3 separate regions of the Homo sapiens genome follow, and all the other regions are linked to region 3. Evidence: promoter capture Hi-C in 16 types of primary human blood cells and fetal thymus (Javierre and others, 2016). All regions are on one chromosome and are shown on one strand. Each heading gives the region's core, a stretch centred on a gene start or on the middle of the fragment in contact. The rest is flanking DNA. Distances are from core to core; before and after follow the strand shown.

Evidence for each region. The method cuts DNA at HindIII sites, captures the fragments that hold promoters and counts their contacts. A CHiCAGO score of 5 or more calls a contact.
Region 1: a contact is called between a fragment that was not itself captured here and the fragment with the promoter of CEBPD in region 3, in 2 of 17 cell types (neutrophils and monocytes). The highest score is 9.9, in neutrophils.
Region 2: a contact is called between a fragment that was not itself captured here and the fragment with the promoter of CEBPD in region 3, in 2 of 17 cell types (neutrophils and monocytes). The highest score is 6.5, in neutrophils.

The regions. Positions count from the first base shown.
Region 1 is chr8:47,504,035-47,508,168 of GRCh38, reverse strand. The region is part of intron 8 of SPIDR (scaffold protein involved in DNA repair); the gene reads right to left. Among named protein-coding and RNA genes, the nearest start is that of CEBPD, 230 kb to the left of the region's middle. The HindIII fragment of the contact is 3,698 bases long and covers 578-4,134 here.
Region 2 is chr8:47,568,973-47,572,971 of GRCh38, reverse strand. The region is part of intron 8 of SPIDR (scaffold protein involved in DNA repair); the gene reads right to left. Among named protein-coding and RNA genes, the nearest start is that of CEBPD, 170 kb to the left of the region's middle. The HindIII fragment of the contact is 2,323 bases long and covers 979-3,301 here.
Region 3 is chr8:47,735,717-47,740,114 of GRCh38, reverse strand. CEBPD (CCAAT enhancer binding protein delta) reads left to right here and starts at 1,951. Exons shown (of 1, transcript NM_005195.4): 1 at 1,951-3,202. The coding sequence starts at 1,995. The coding sequence ends at 2,804. SPIDR (scaffold protein involved in DNA repair) reads right to left here. Exons shown (of 20, transcript NM_001080394.4): 20 at 3,809-4,398. RefSeq lists silencers at 1,123-1,592, 1,683-1,762, 1,803-1,912, 2,403-2,592 and an enhancer at 1,989-2,927. The HindIII fragment of the contact is 19,422 bases long and covers 1-4,398 here.

The DNA.
Region 1 (4,134 bases), core at 1,177-3,676, 230 kb after region 3:
CATGATGGCATCATGCTGATAGGATTTGTTAGTGAGAAGTAACAATACCTGAGAATAGCTTGTTAAGGCAAGTATTTGCAGGAGGGCAGAGAACACATTCCTCCAGTCTGCTCCCAGGGTAGCCTTTTGAGTACTACCTTGATCTATTTACTGAGTAACCCATAATTACTCAATCCAGTATTGAGTGGGCCAAGAAAAAGCCCTCCATATGGGCTAGGATGGAAGGCAAGCAACTCTGCCCTTGCTCATGTGGCCAATGAACTGGGATACTCGAAGTCAAAACAGAAGAGTGGGAAGTCCCAAGGTTTTGGGGTCACACAATACTCTATATAGCAAGTAACTATTTTCCTTTTGATACACACAGATTGGCTTAATACTGGCTCCTAGTGGAGAATGAACAGCTGACATTTCATGTTAGTTAACTGTGAAAACATGGCCATGGGACCCACATGAACTGGGTATTGGGGCTACAGAGAAGGACATGTCCAGGATACTGTGTCCTCAAGTAAAAGTCATATATATATAGCATATTTAGGTGTGAATAGCATCCAAAATTAAGTTCCGTCAACAAGAAGCTTATATTACTGATGTGCCTACTCTTGCATCCTGCCATCCTTCCCTCAGCCCCCCACCAGGGCTCATGGGAAAGTCTGCATGACCAGCTGTCTGAGGAGCTCGTATCCAGATGGAGCAACACGATATGAGCAGCTGAAATCGGCTGTTACAGCTTTGCAGCTTCCTTCACAGAAGGCCCTGACAGAGGAGCAGAGCTTCCCATGGCATGTCTTGGGTCCAGTCTGCCCAGAAGAGATGGCATGAGGTATCAATCACACTGATTCATGGGCAGCAGCAACTACTGAGCTAAACCATTGGGAAGACGCTTTATGGGCACATATCATGGACTATCTGACCCAACTGAAAGACAGCTTGCAGTACAAGCCTCTACTCACAAAGAATCAGAACTTACATTGACCAGCACAGACAAAGGAGGAAGAAGACTGAGGAGCTGGCAGCAGGTGGCTGGGAAGAGGCATATGGGTGGATTTCTTGAACCAGGAGTAAGACAGATACGGTGTCCATCTGAATGCTTACTGGAGAGAAGGCTCTCAAAAACCAGGTGGACATGATAAATCACCCTATGAATGCTTGTCTCACTCTCTCCACAGTAGCCCAGAGGTTGTTTAGTGGGCTCATTAGCAAAGTGACCACAGTGGTAGAAGTACAACATGGGCAGCCTCCCTGCACAGAGCTCAGCTATTTCCCAACACAGTGGAGTGTCAACTTGCTAGGAACAACAATCGATTTGGAGGGACCGCCTGCTACATAATAACCGGTTAATTACACTCAATCCCTTCTATCATGACAGGATACCATTTTATCCTCACTAGAAGATATGCCTACTCAGGTTTGGTTTTGTCTTCACTGTCTGCCAGTAACACTGCATATGTCCGTAAACCCACTAAGTAATACATTTGGATACTTTAGGGCATGTAGACCACAAAATGGGTAGTAACCACTTGTAGAAATGAGAAGTCTAATAATTATGCATACTTCTTCCTCTCTCGGTGTGGCAAGTATATATTTATGCATGTTAACTAATTTCCTTTCTCCATTTCCCCAGTTTTAGATAGGGTCTATTGGTGATATTAGCCTTGCAATTCATTCTATAGGTTACAGGATCCCAGAATTCTAAGACAGAACACTGCCTAAATTAGAGAAAGAAAGAACGATCACCCTGAGAACCTGCACTGGTGGAACCAACTGCAGAAACAAACGAGATTTTGGGACTGCCCTCTAGGTAGAGTGAGACCCTCATTATTTCTATACGGGAGAGCTGTATGATGGTGTAAATAAATTGTTGCTGCTGTTGTTTGGAAATGTAAGGGGGGTTTATGTTGACACAGAACACACAAACATGCAGCTGAAATAGCAGCATTTGTGCTGAACTGTCTAGTAGCTGCCCTCCTCCCTGTGTTACTTCCAGGTGGGTAGGAAGCAGCCAAACATGTTCTGCTTAGAAAGCCTCGCCTGGATTCTGTCATCTGCAACTGAGCTCTCAACTCTTGTAGCATTACAAGAAACAAAGGAGGTACTATACATGCAGAAATGGTTTGAGAAAGTATAGAAACATCTACAGAAGGCATAATTTTCCATTTTATAGTTTAAGATTCAGAAAATGATGAGTCAGAAGATACATTCAATGTGCCAGGAGGGCAATACTCAAAAATAATGGAATTACATACACTGAAATTATGCCCAAGATATAGGCTAAGTATACTTATGGTTGAGAAGTGACGGAAAAAAATTCACAAAAGGTAACGGTTCGGAGAGAGTGAACACTAATATCCTTAGTAGGGAAGCCCGGGTGGCACTGCTAGTGTTGTCACTAGATGACCACAGATCAGTGCAGTTGAAATGCTGCTGTACCGAATAGGAACAGCTCCAGTCTACAGCTCCCAGCGTGACCAACGCAGAAGACCGGGGATTTCTGCATTTCCAACTGAGGTATCGCACTGGGGAGTATCGGAAAGTGGGCGCAGCGGACCGAGCATGAGCCGAAGCAGGGCGAGGCACTGCCTCACCCGGGAAGCGCAAGGGGTCAGGGAATTCCCTTTCCTAGTCAAAGAAAGGGGTGACAGATGGCACCTGGAAAATTGGGTCACTCCCACCCTAATACTGCGCTTTTCCAATGGTCATAGCATATGGCACACCAGGAGATTATATCCCGCACATGGCTTGGAGGGTCCTATGCCCACAGAGCCCTGCTCATTGCTAGCACAGCAGTCTGAGATCAAGCTGCAAGGCGGCAGCGAGGCTTGGGGAGAGGCGCCCGCCATTGCTGAGGCTTGGGTAGGTAAACAAAGTGGCGGGGAAGCTCGAACTGGGTGGAGCCCACCGCAGCTCAAGGAGGCCTGCCTGCCTGCCTCTGTAGCCTCCACCTCTGGGGGCAGGACATAGCCAAACAAAAGACAGCAGAATCCTTTGCAGACTGAAATGTCCCTGTCTGACAGCCTTGAAGGGAGTAGTGGTTCTCCCAGCACTCAGATGGAGATCTGAGAATGGACAGACTGCCTCCTCAAGTGGGTCTCTGACCCCTGAGTAGCCTAACTGGGAGGCACCCTTCAGTAGGGGCAGACTGACACCTCACACGGCCGGGTACTCCGCTGAGACAAAACTTCCAGAGAAACGATCAGGCAGCAACATTTGCTGTTCACCAATATCAGCCACTCTGCAGCGTCTGCTGCTGATATCCAGGCAAACAGGGTCTGGAGTGGACCTCCGGCAAACTCCAACAGACCTGCAGCTGAGGGTCCTGACTGTTAGAAGGAAAACTAACAGAAAGGATATCCACTCCAAAACCCCATCTGTACGTCACTATCATCAAAGACACAAAGGTAGATAAAACCACAAAGATGGAGAAAAAACAGAGCAGAAAAACTGGAAACTCTAAAAATCAGAGTGCCTCTCCTCCTCCAAAGGAACACAGCTCCTCACCAGCAATGGAACAAAGCTGGACGGAGAATGACTTTGACGAGTTGAGAGAAGAAGGCTTCAGATGATCAAACTACTCCGAGCTAAAGGAGGAAGTTTGCACCCATGGCAAAGAAGTTAAAAACCTTGAAAAAAGATTAGACGAATGGCTAACTAGAATAACCAATGCAGAGAAGTCCTTAAAGGACCTCATGGAGCTGAAAACCAAGGCACGAGAACTATGTGACAAATGCACAAGCCTCAGTAGCCGATTCGATCAACTAGAAGAAAGGGTATCAGTGATAGAAGATCAAATGAATGAAATGAAGTGAGAAGAGAAGTTTAGAGAAAAAAGAAAAAAAAGAAACGAACAAAGCCTCCAAGAAATATGGGACTATGTGAAAAGACCAAATCTATGTCTGACTGGTGTACCTCAAAGTGACGAGGAGAATGGAACCAAGCTGGAAAACACTCTGCAGGATATTATCCAGGAGAACTTCCCCAATCTAGCAAGGCAGGCCAACATTCAAATTCAGGAAATACAGAGAACGCCACAAAGACACTCCTCGAGAAGAGCAACTCCAAGACACATAATTGTCAGATTCACCAAGGTTGAAATGGAGGAAAAAACGTTAACAGCACCCAGAGAGAAAGGTGAGGTTA
Region 2 (3,999 bases), core at 891-3,390, 170 kb after region 3:
ATCAACGATGTCATTCTCTTGTCTGCAGGGTATCTTATTTAGCACGCTTCTCTTCCTGCACTGGGCTTAGGGAGCTTCCTTGGGGACAGGCAGCGGCACTGCCCCTGGTCCATGAGAGATGCTGTGTCAATGTGTGGGAGAGCTCAAGAGGGAAACAGACCCATCCGATGGAAGCCTTTTTCATCTTTTATTTCTGTCTCAAAAATGTTTCTCAATTGCAAACCACATCTTCAAAGGAAACAATACAGGAATCGTACAAGTTATTTATTTATTTATTTATTTATTTATTTATTTATTTTAATTTAATTTTGAGATGGAGTCTTGCTCTGTCGCCAGGCAGGAGTGGCAGTGGCGCAATCTCAGCTCGCTGCAACCTCCACCTCCTGGGTTCAAGTGATTCTCCTGCCTCAGCCTCCCGAGTAGCTGGGACTACAGGTGTCCGCCACCATGCCCAGCTAACTTTTGTATTTTTAGTAGAGATGGGGTTTCACCACATTAGCCAGGATGGTCTCGATCTTTTCACCTTGTGATCCACCCGCCTCGAACTCCCGAAGTGCTGGGATTACAGGCATGAGCCACCGTGCCCGGCCCTCATACAAGTTTTTACACCTTTTTTTGACCAGTTTATTACTGATAATATCTTATCGACTGAATTCTTGGCCTCCTAAAATTGATAGTTAAAGATAGATGTATGTTAAGATTGTAAACTATCACTGTGCTGGGCTATAAATACAATGGTAAGGATTATCTAAGTTACCTTTATCAAAATAAACAGATTATTGATATGACATTCAAAACAGTCTGTGGTACCCTCTCAGGAAAACAAAATACTACCTAAATATTTTATATTATATCAAATATTACACTATTTCAGTTAAATTTTTTTCTAGTACATTTACTGAGCACTCACTACATACAAGAGATTACTTGGTACACCAATGGTTAGAAATGACAACAGAACCAACTTAAAAGTAAGCTTGATCTATTAGAAGAGGGAAAGCATAATATAATGTTATTATATTTATTTAATACAGTGTTCTCTCATCCACGGTTTTGTTTTTTGTGGTTTCAGTTATCCTCAGAACACCAAGGTACGAAAATAGGTGAGCACAGTACAATAAGATATTTTAGGAGACCACATTCACATAATTTTTATCACAGTATATTGTTATAATTGTTCTACTTTATTATTGTTGTTGTTAATCTTTACTTTGCCTTATTTATAAATTAACCTTTATCACAGGTATGTATGCATAGGCAAAAACAGTTTATACAAGGTTGAGTACTATGTATCCACTGGAGGTATTGGAATATATCCTCCTTGAATAAGGCGGCACTAGTATAATGTTTAATAATGGCAATTATGCTTATTGCTATAATGTTTGTATTTTATATATTAATTAAATTTGCATTTTATAAATTACTTTCCTTAAGTTACCTCATTTGATTCTTGTAACAATTCTGGGAGGGAAGTAGGATATATATGATTCTATTTTTCATTTTATTTCATTATTATTTTATTTCCTCCTCCCCCTGAGCTTTATTGAAATAAAATTGGCAAATAAAAATCAAATACATATAAGAGGGACACAATGTGATGTCTGAAGTACGTATAGAGTGTGAAATGACTGCCACAGCATTAACATCTCCATCTACTCACATGTTCTATGTGTATGCTTACAATACTTAAGATCCACTCTCTCAGCAAATGTCAAATATACATTAACTGTAGATACCATGCTGTCCGTTAGGTCTCCAGAACTTACTCATCTTATAAATGAAAGTTTGGACCCCTTAACTAATATCTCTCCATTTCTCCCACCCTCAAGCCCTGGTACACCCTTCTACTCTGTTTCTACGAGTTCAACTTTTTTTTTTTTTGAGACAGAGTCTCGCTCCGTAGCCCAAGCTGGAGTGCCGTGGTGCGATCTCGGCTCACTGCAACTTCTGCCTCCCGGGTTCAAGCAATTCTCCTGTCTCAGCTTCCCGAGTAGCTGGGACTACAGGCGCCCACCACTACACCTGGCTAATTTTTGTATTTTTAGTAGAGACGGGGTTTCACCATATTGGCCAGGCTGGTTTCGAACTCCTGACCTTGTGATCCGCCCACCTAGGCCTTCCAAAGTGCTGGGATTATAGGCGTGAGCCACCACACCCGGCTAAAACCTTTCATCTTAATCATTACTCTTATTGTATATCTTCTTTGCAGAAAGAATCTTTTCAGATTCTTTGCCCATTTTAAAAATTAGGTTGTCTTTTTATTACTGAGTGGTAAGAATTTTTTATATATTCTCTATGTAACTCTCTTATCAAATATATGATCTGCATATACTCCCCTCCATTCTGTGGGTTAACTTTTCACTTTCTTGATAGTGTCTTTTGAAGCACAAAAGTTCTTAATCTTGATGATGTGCAATATTTTTTTCCTTTTATTGCTTATGCTTTTAGTGTCATACCTAAGAATCCATCACCACATTCAAGGTCAGGAAGATTTCTTCTTGTGTTTTATTCTAGGAGTTTTATACTTTTGGCTCTTACATTTAGGTCTCTGATTCATTTTGAGTTAATTTTTGTATATGTTTAAGGTAAAGATCTCTATTATTTTGCATGTGGATATCTGGTAGTCCCAGCACCATCTGTGGAAGACCATTATTCTTTCCCCCTTGAATGATCTTGGTACCTTTGTTGAAAATCAACTGACCATAGAGGGGTTTAGAGGGCTTTCTAATACATTTCATTGGTCGACATGTTTATCTTTATGTCAACACTGTCTTGAATACTGTAGCTTTGTAGCACTTTTTTAAATTGGAAAGGGTGAGTCCTATAACTTTCTTCTTTTTCAAGGCTGTTTTGGCTATTCTGGGTCTCTTGGGTTTACATATGAATTCCCATGATCATCTTGTTAATTCTACAAAGAAGCCAGATGGGATTCTAATAGGAATCATGTTGAATCTACAGATCAATTTGGTGAGTATTGCCTTCTTAACCCTATTAATCTCTTTCAACATTGTTTTGTAGTTTTCAGAGTGTATTACACTTGTTTTATTAAATTTATTTCTAAGTATTTTATTCCTTTTGGTGCCACTGTAAATAAAATTGGTTTAATTTCATTTTCAGATTGTTCATTGCATTGTACAGAAATACAGCTGATTTTTCTATACTGACCTTGTACCCTGCAACCTTGCTAAGCTCATTACTTCTATCAGTTCTTTTTAGTGAATTCCTTAGGATTTTCTACATTTGAAATCATGTCATCTGTGAATAGAGAAAATTTCACTTCTTCCTTTCCAACATGGAAGCTTTTTAATTCCTTTTCTTGCCTAATTGTCCTGGGTAGAAACTCCAGTACAATATTCAACAGAAGTGGTAAAAATGGATATCCTTCTCTTATTCTATTGTAACTGGAAAATATACTCTGTAAGACCTGAATATTTTAACTTATTAAGACTTGTTTGATGGTTTAACAAATAATCTATCCTGGAAAATGTTCCATGTGCACTTGACAAGAATGGGTATTATGTTGTTAGGTGGGAATATTCTGCACGTCTGTTAGGTTTAATTGCTTTACAGTGTTGTTCAAGTCCAATATTTCCTACTGATCTTCTTTCTAGTTGTTCTAATCCCTATTGAAAGTGGGAGTAATTAAGTCTCTAATTATTATTTTAGAACTGTCTATTTCTCCCTTTGACTCTGTCAATTTTTACTTCTTATATTCTGGGGCACCTTTGTTAGGTGTATATATATCTGTTATCTCTTCTTGCTGTATTGAACCTTTTAATTAATATATAGTGTCCTTTATCTCTTGTAACTGCTTTTGATTTAAAGTTTATTTTATCTACAATGATATACCTATCTTGGTTCTCTTTTAGTTAATATTTGCATAGAATATCTTTTTCCATCTTTTAACTTTCAACCCCTTCTGTCCTCATATGTAAAGTATGTCTCTTGTAGACAGCATATAGATGAATCCTGTTTTTTTAAATGTAATCTTCTAATCTC
Region 3 (4,398 bases), core at 702-3,201:
AGAACAAAACAATTTGTGCTAGAACTTTTTCTGGATGTGCGTAAGTCCACACTCTATGCATTGCTGGATTTCAGTCTTAATAGGTAATTAATTGTGTGACATCATCATTGTGTACCCTCTGAGTAACTCTAAAGAAATATGTTTGTTCTTTAGGAAACCTATTAAATATCCCATAGTGCAACGTTAGAAATGACCTCTGGAACTGACTGCAGAAACTGCACAGCAGTTAGTAGAGCTTGGTGTTCCGACGCAGATCTGGTGAGAGGCCTGCGCAGGAAGAGACTCGACATGGAGCAGGTGTGACTAGCGATAGTGATTTAATGGATTTGGGCCCGACATGGTGGCTCACGCCTGTAATCCCAGCACTTTGGGAGGCTGAGGCCGGCGAATCTCTTAAGCCCAGGAGTTTGAAACCAGCCTGGACAATATTGTGAGATCCCATCTCAATTTTTTTTTTGAGATGGAGTCTCGCTCTGTCGCCCAGGCTGGAGTGCAATGGAACGATCTCGGCTCACTGCAACCTCCGCCTCCCGGGTTCAAGCGATTCTCCTGCCTCAGCCTCCCGAGTAGCTGGGATTACAGGCGCACGCCACTACGCTTGGCTAATTTTTGTATTTTTAGTAGAAATGGGGTTTCACCATGTTGACCAGGCTGGTTTCAAACTCCTGACCTCAAGTGATCCGCCCACCTCAGCCTCCCAAAATGCTGGGATTACCGGCATGAGCCACTGTGCTCGGCTGAAAAAAACCATATTTTTAATTTAAAATAATAAATGGGTCTGACCAGAAATGCCTGCCTCAAATTGCAGGACACATGACAAAGCCCATTCTTACTTAAGACATTTTCAGTGTGCGATGGGTCTACCGGGATGTAACCCCATCGTGAGTCGAGGCCCATCTGCACCCTGCTATAGCTACTGGTAGATCTTACCTGTTTCCCAAAAAGGACCCAACTACTTTAGGTTCAAGGCACTTTTTTGGAATATTTAACAGGGAAAGAGCCTGGAACTAAAAACAGGTCTAACGCAAGATGCCGCCACACGATGGCACTGCTTCCGTAGACCTGGAAGAAACGCGGGCGCGGGAGCTGGCGGCGGACGCCCGGGTCTGCGGGGTCGGGGAGTAGCGTCCGGCCGGAGAGCCCGCACCTCGAGGAGCCGGCGGAGGACGCGGTGTCGTGACCGCGTCTCCCCCATCTGCTCTGCTTTTGGCGACAGCGTCCCGTCGGCCTTTCGGCCAGGACGCAGCAGCCGCGTCTCTGGGCCTCGACCCCCAGGGCCGGCCGGACCCGGGACCTCCGAGGAGAGCAGCGAGAACCGGCCCGGATTCCCCGAGGCGCCCGAGTGCGGTGCGGGCAGCCCTCCCCGCCTGCCAGGCCGCCGCTGTCCCCACGTCTGGTCCCCCACGCCTCTTCCCGCATCTGGTCCCACGGTGGAGGCGCGGGGCGAGGGCCTCACGCGCGTGCCCACGGTCGGGGGGCGTCCTTGGACGCGCGGGTCCTCTCCCACGGGTCTCCACCCCCCGCCCTCCGGCGACAGGAGCCGGCCTGGGACGCGCGCGCTGCGGCCAAGTCCTGGTTTTGATTTCACTCCCAACCCCGAGGAGCGAGGAGGTTCCAAGCCCACAAACAGGAAGAAGAGAAGGCCCTGGAGTGCTGGCAGAGGGAGTGTCATTCCCAGCAGCGCAGCGCAGGCCGGCCCGGGCCGGGGAGGGAGCAGCAGCGCGGGCACCCTCCTGCAACGTGGGCTGGGGGTCCCCAGGGCCGGGGAGGGGGCCCCGGGGAGGAACTGAGAGGGGGCGCGCCCCGGGAAGGCTCGGGGCGGCTCCGGGGGGCTCCCAGGGCGCCCCCGCCCCTTCCCCCGCGGCCCCGGGGCGCCCCCGCGGTGCCGGAGTCGGGGCGGGGCGTGCACGTCAGCCGGGGCTAGAAAAGGCGGCGGGGCTGGGCCCAGCGAGGTGACAGCCTCGCTTGGACGCAGAGCCCGGCCCGACGCCGCCATGAGCGCCGCGCTCTTCAGCCTGGACGGCCCGGCGCGCGGCGCGCCCTGGCCTGCGGAGCCTGCGCCCTTCTACGAACCGGGCCGGGCGGGCAAGCCGGGCCGCGGGGCCGAGCCAGGGGCCCTAGGCGAGCCAGGCGCCGCCGCCCCCGCCATGTACGACGACGAGAGCGCCATCGACTTCAGCGCCTACATCGACTCCATGGCCGCCGTGCCCACCCTGGAGCTGTGCCACGACGAGCTCTTCGCCGACCTCTTCAACAGCAATCACAAGGCGGGCGGCGCGGGGCCCCTGGAGCTTCTTCCCGGCGGCCCCGCGCGCCCCTTGGGCCCGGGCCCTGCCGCTCCCCGCCTGCTCAAGCGCGAGCCCGACTGGGGCGACGGCGACGCGCCCGGCTCGCTGTTGCCCGCGCAGGTGGCCGCGTGCGCACAGACCGTGGTGAGCTTGGCGGCCGCAGGGCAGCCCACCCCGCCCACGTCGCCGGAGCCGCCGCGCAGCAGCCCCAGGCAGACCCCCGCGCCCGGCCCCGCCCGGGAGAAGAGCGCCGGCAAGAGGGGCCCGGACCGCGGCAGCCCCGAGTACCGGCAGCGGCGCGAGCGCAACAACATCGCCGTGCGCAAGAGCCGCGACAAGGCCAAGCGGCGCAACCAGGAGATGCAGCAGAAGTTGGTGGAGCTGTCGGCTGAGAACGAGAAGCTGCACCAGCGCGTGGAGCAGCTCACGCGGGACCTGGCCGGCCTCCGGCAGTTCTTCAAGCAGCTGCCCAGCCCGCCCTTCCTGCCGGCCGCCGGGACAGCAGACTGCCGGTAACGCGCGGCCGGGGCGGGAGAGACTCAGCAACGACCCATACCTCAGACCCGACGGCCCGGAGCGGAGCGCGCCCTGCCCTGGCGCAGCCAGAGCCGCCGGGTGCCCGCTGCAGTTTCTTGGGACATAGGAGCGCAAAGAAGCTACAGCCTGGACTTACCACCACTAAACTGCGAGAGAAGCTAAACGTGTTTATTTTCCCTTAAATTATTTTTGTAATGGTAGCTTTTTCTACATCTTACTCCTGTTGATGCAGCTAAGGTACATTTGTAAAAAGAAAAAAAACCAGACTTTTCAGACAAACCCTTTGTATTGTAGATAAGAGGAAAAGACTGAGCATGCTCACTTTTTTATATTAATTTTTACAGTATTTGTAAGAATAAAGCAGCATTTGAAATCGCCCCTGCTTCCTATATTCGCAGTGACTCCCGCCCGCCCGCCGGTGGCGCAGGACCCGGCTCGGGAAGGGTGCGTTCCGGACCCGCAGCCAGCGAGCACCAGGGAGCCCGGGCGCCAGGTGTGTGTGTGGGGGGGGCGGGGGGATGGGGCGCAGGCCCGAGCTACTCAGGAGAGAGGGTCTGTCGCTTTTAAAACGCATTAAAGGCTCTCTCCTGGCCTTATTTAACTTGCCTAAGCTAGGTGGAGCACGGCTGAGCTCAGGTAAGCTAGCAGCTTTCCAGCAGAAGGTGTTCTCCCGAAGAACGCAGACCTGGGGAAGGGTTGACTTTTTGGGGGCCCCTGCTGAGAACAGTTCAAGAGCTCCCTAACTGTAGAGGCTGCTGGAGGGGCGAGGGGCAGAACCCCGGGCTGAATCATCTCCCGCTTTCCCGGGACTTTGCTTTCACTTTCCTCAGTCTTGTGGACAGAGTCAAGTAGATTTTCAAAAGTGCTCCAGAAAGGCCGGAATAGTCATGTAGTGGATGAAAAGGGCAGTCACAAAACTGCTTAAGACCAGCTGTCTTGCCAGTAATTGCAGTGCTTTAAGATTTAATTAAAAAGCCGCCTGCCTTTAACCCAAGAACACTTGGTATTAGGGCACCATGTCTTGGTCACGGCTGCTACGTGTATCTGATGTAGTTAACCATGGCCTGTCATGATTATATTGCTATAAGGAAGGGAACAAAATCTTTATAGTGTCCAAAGATAATTAATTCTTGGTTTAAATCTTTGCCAGCAAAGCAAATATCCGACTGACTGCTCCTTAGTCTGTGATCTTTGCTCTCCGTGCACATTACCCAGCCTAATTAAAACAGGTGTGTGTGGTGGAGCCAGCTATCCCCACCACCATTCAGCAGAGACACGATCACACCAGTTCAGAGAGCTACACTTTATGGGTAACAGTTTCACCTGTGATACAGTTCCCTAGAACATTTTCCCAAAAGTAGTGAACTGCAAAGTGCTTAGGTTTGACATTTATTGTAGCAGAACAGTAATATCACAGTATGGGACAAAGGTTTACACTTTGCAGGGTATTCTTTGGGGGAATGTTAAATACTGTAATAAAAACATGTTCAATCATGGTAAAATGTTCAACTTGTTAAAATTACAAATGAACAAAAAAAATTTTTTTCTCATATATTGCCTAAATACCAAATGA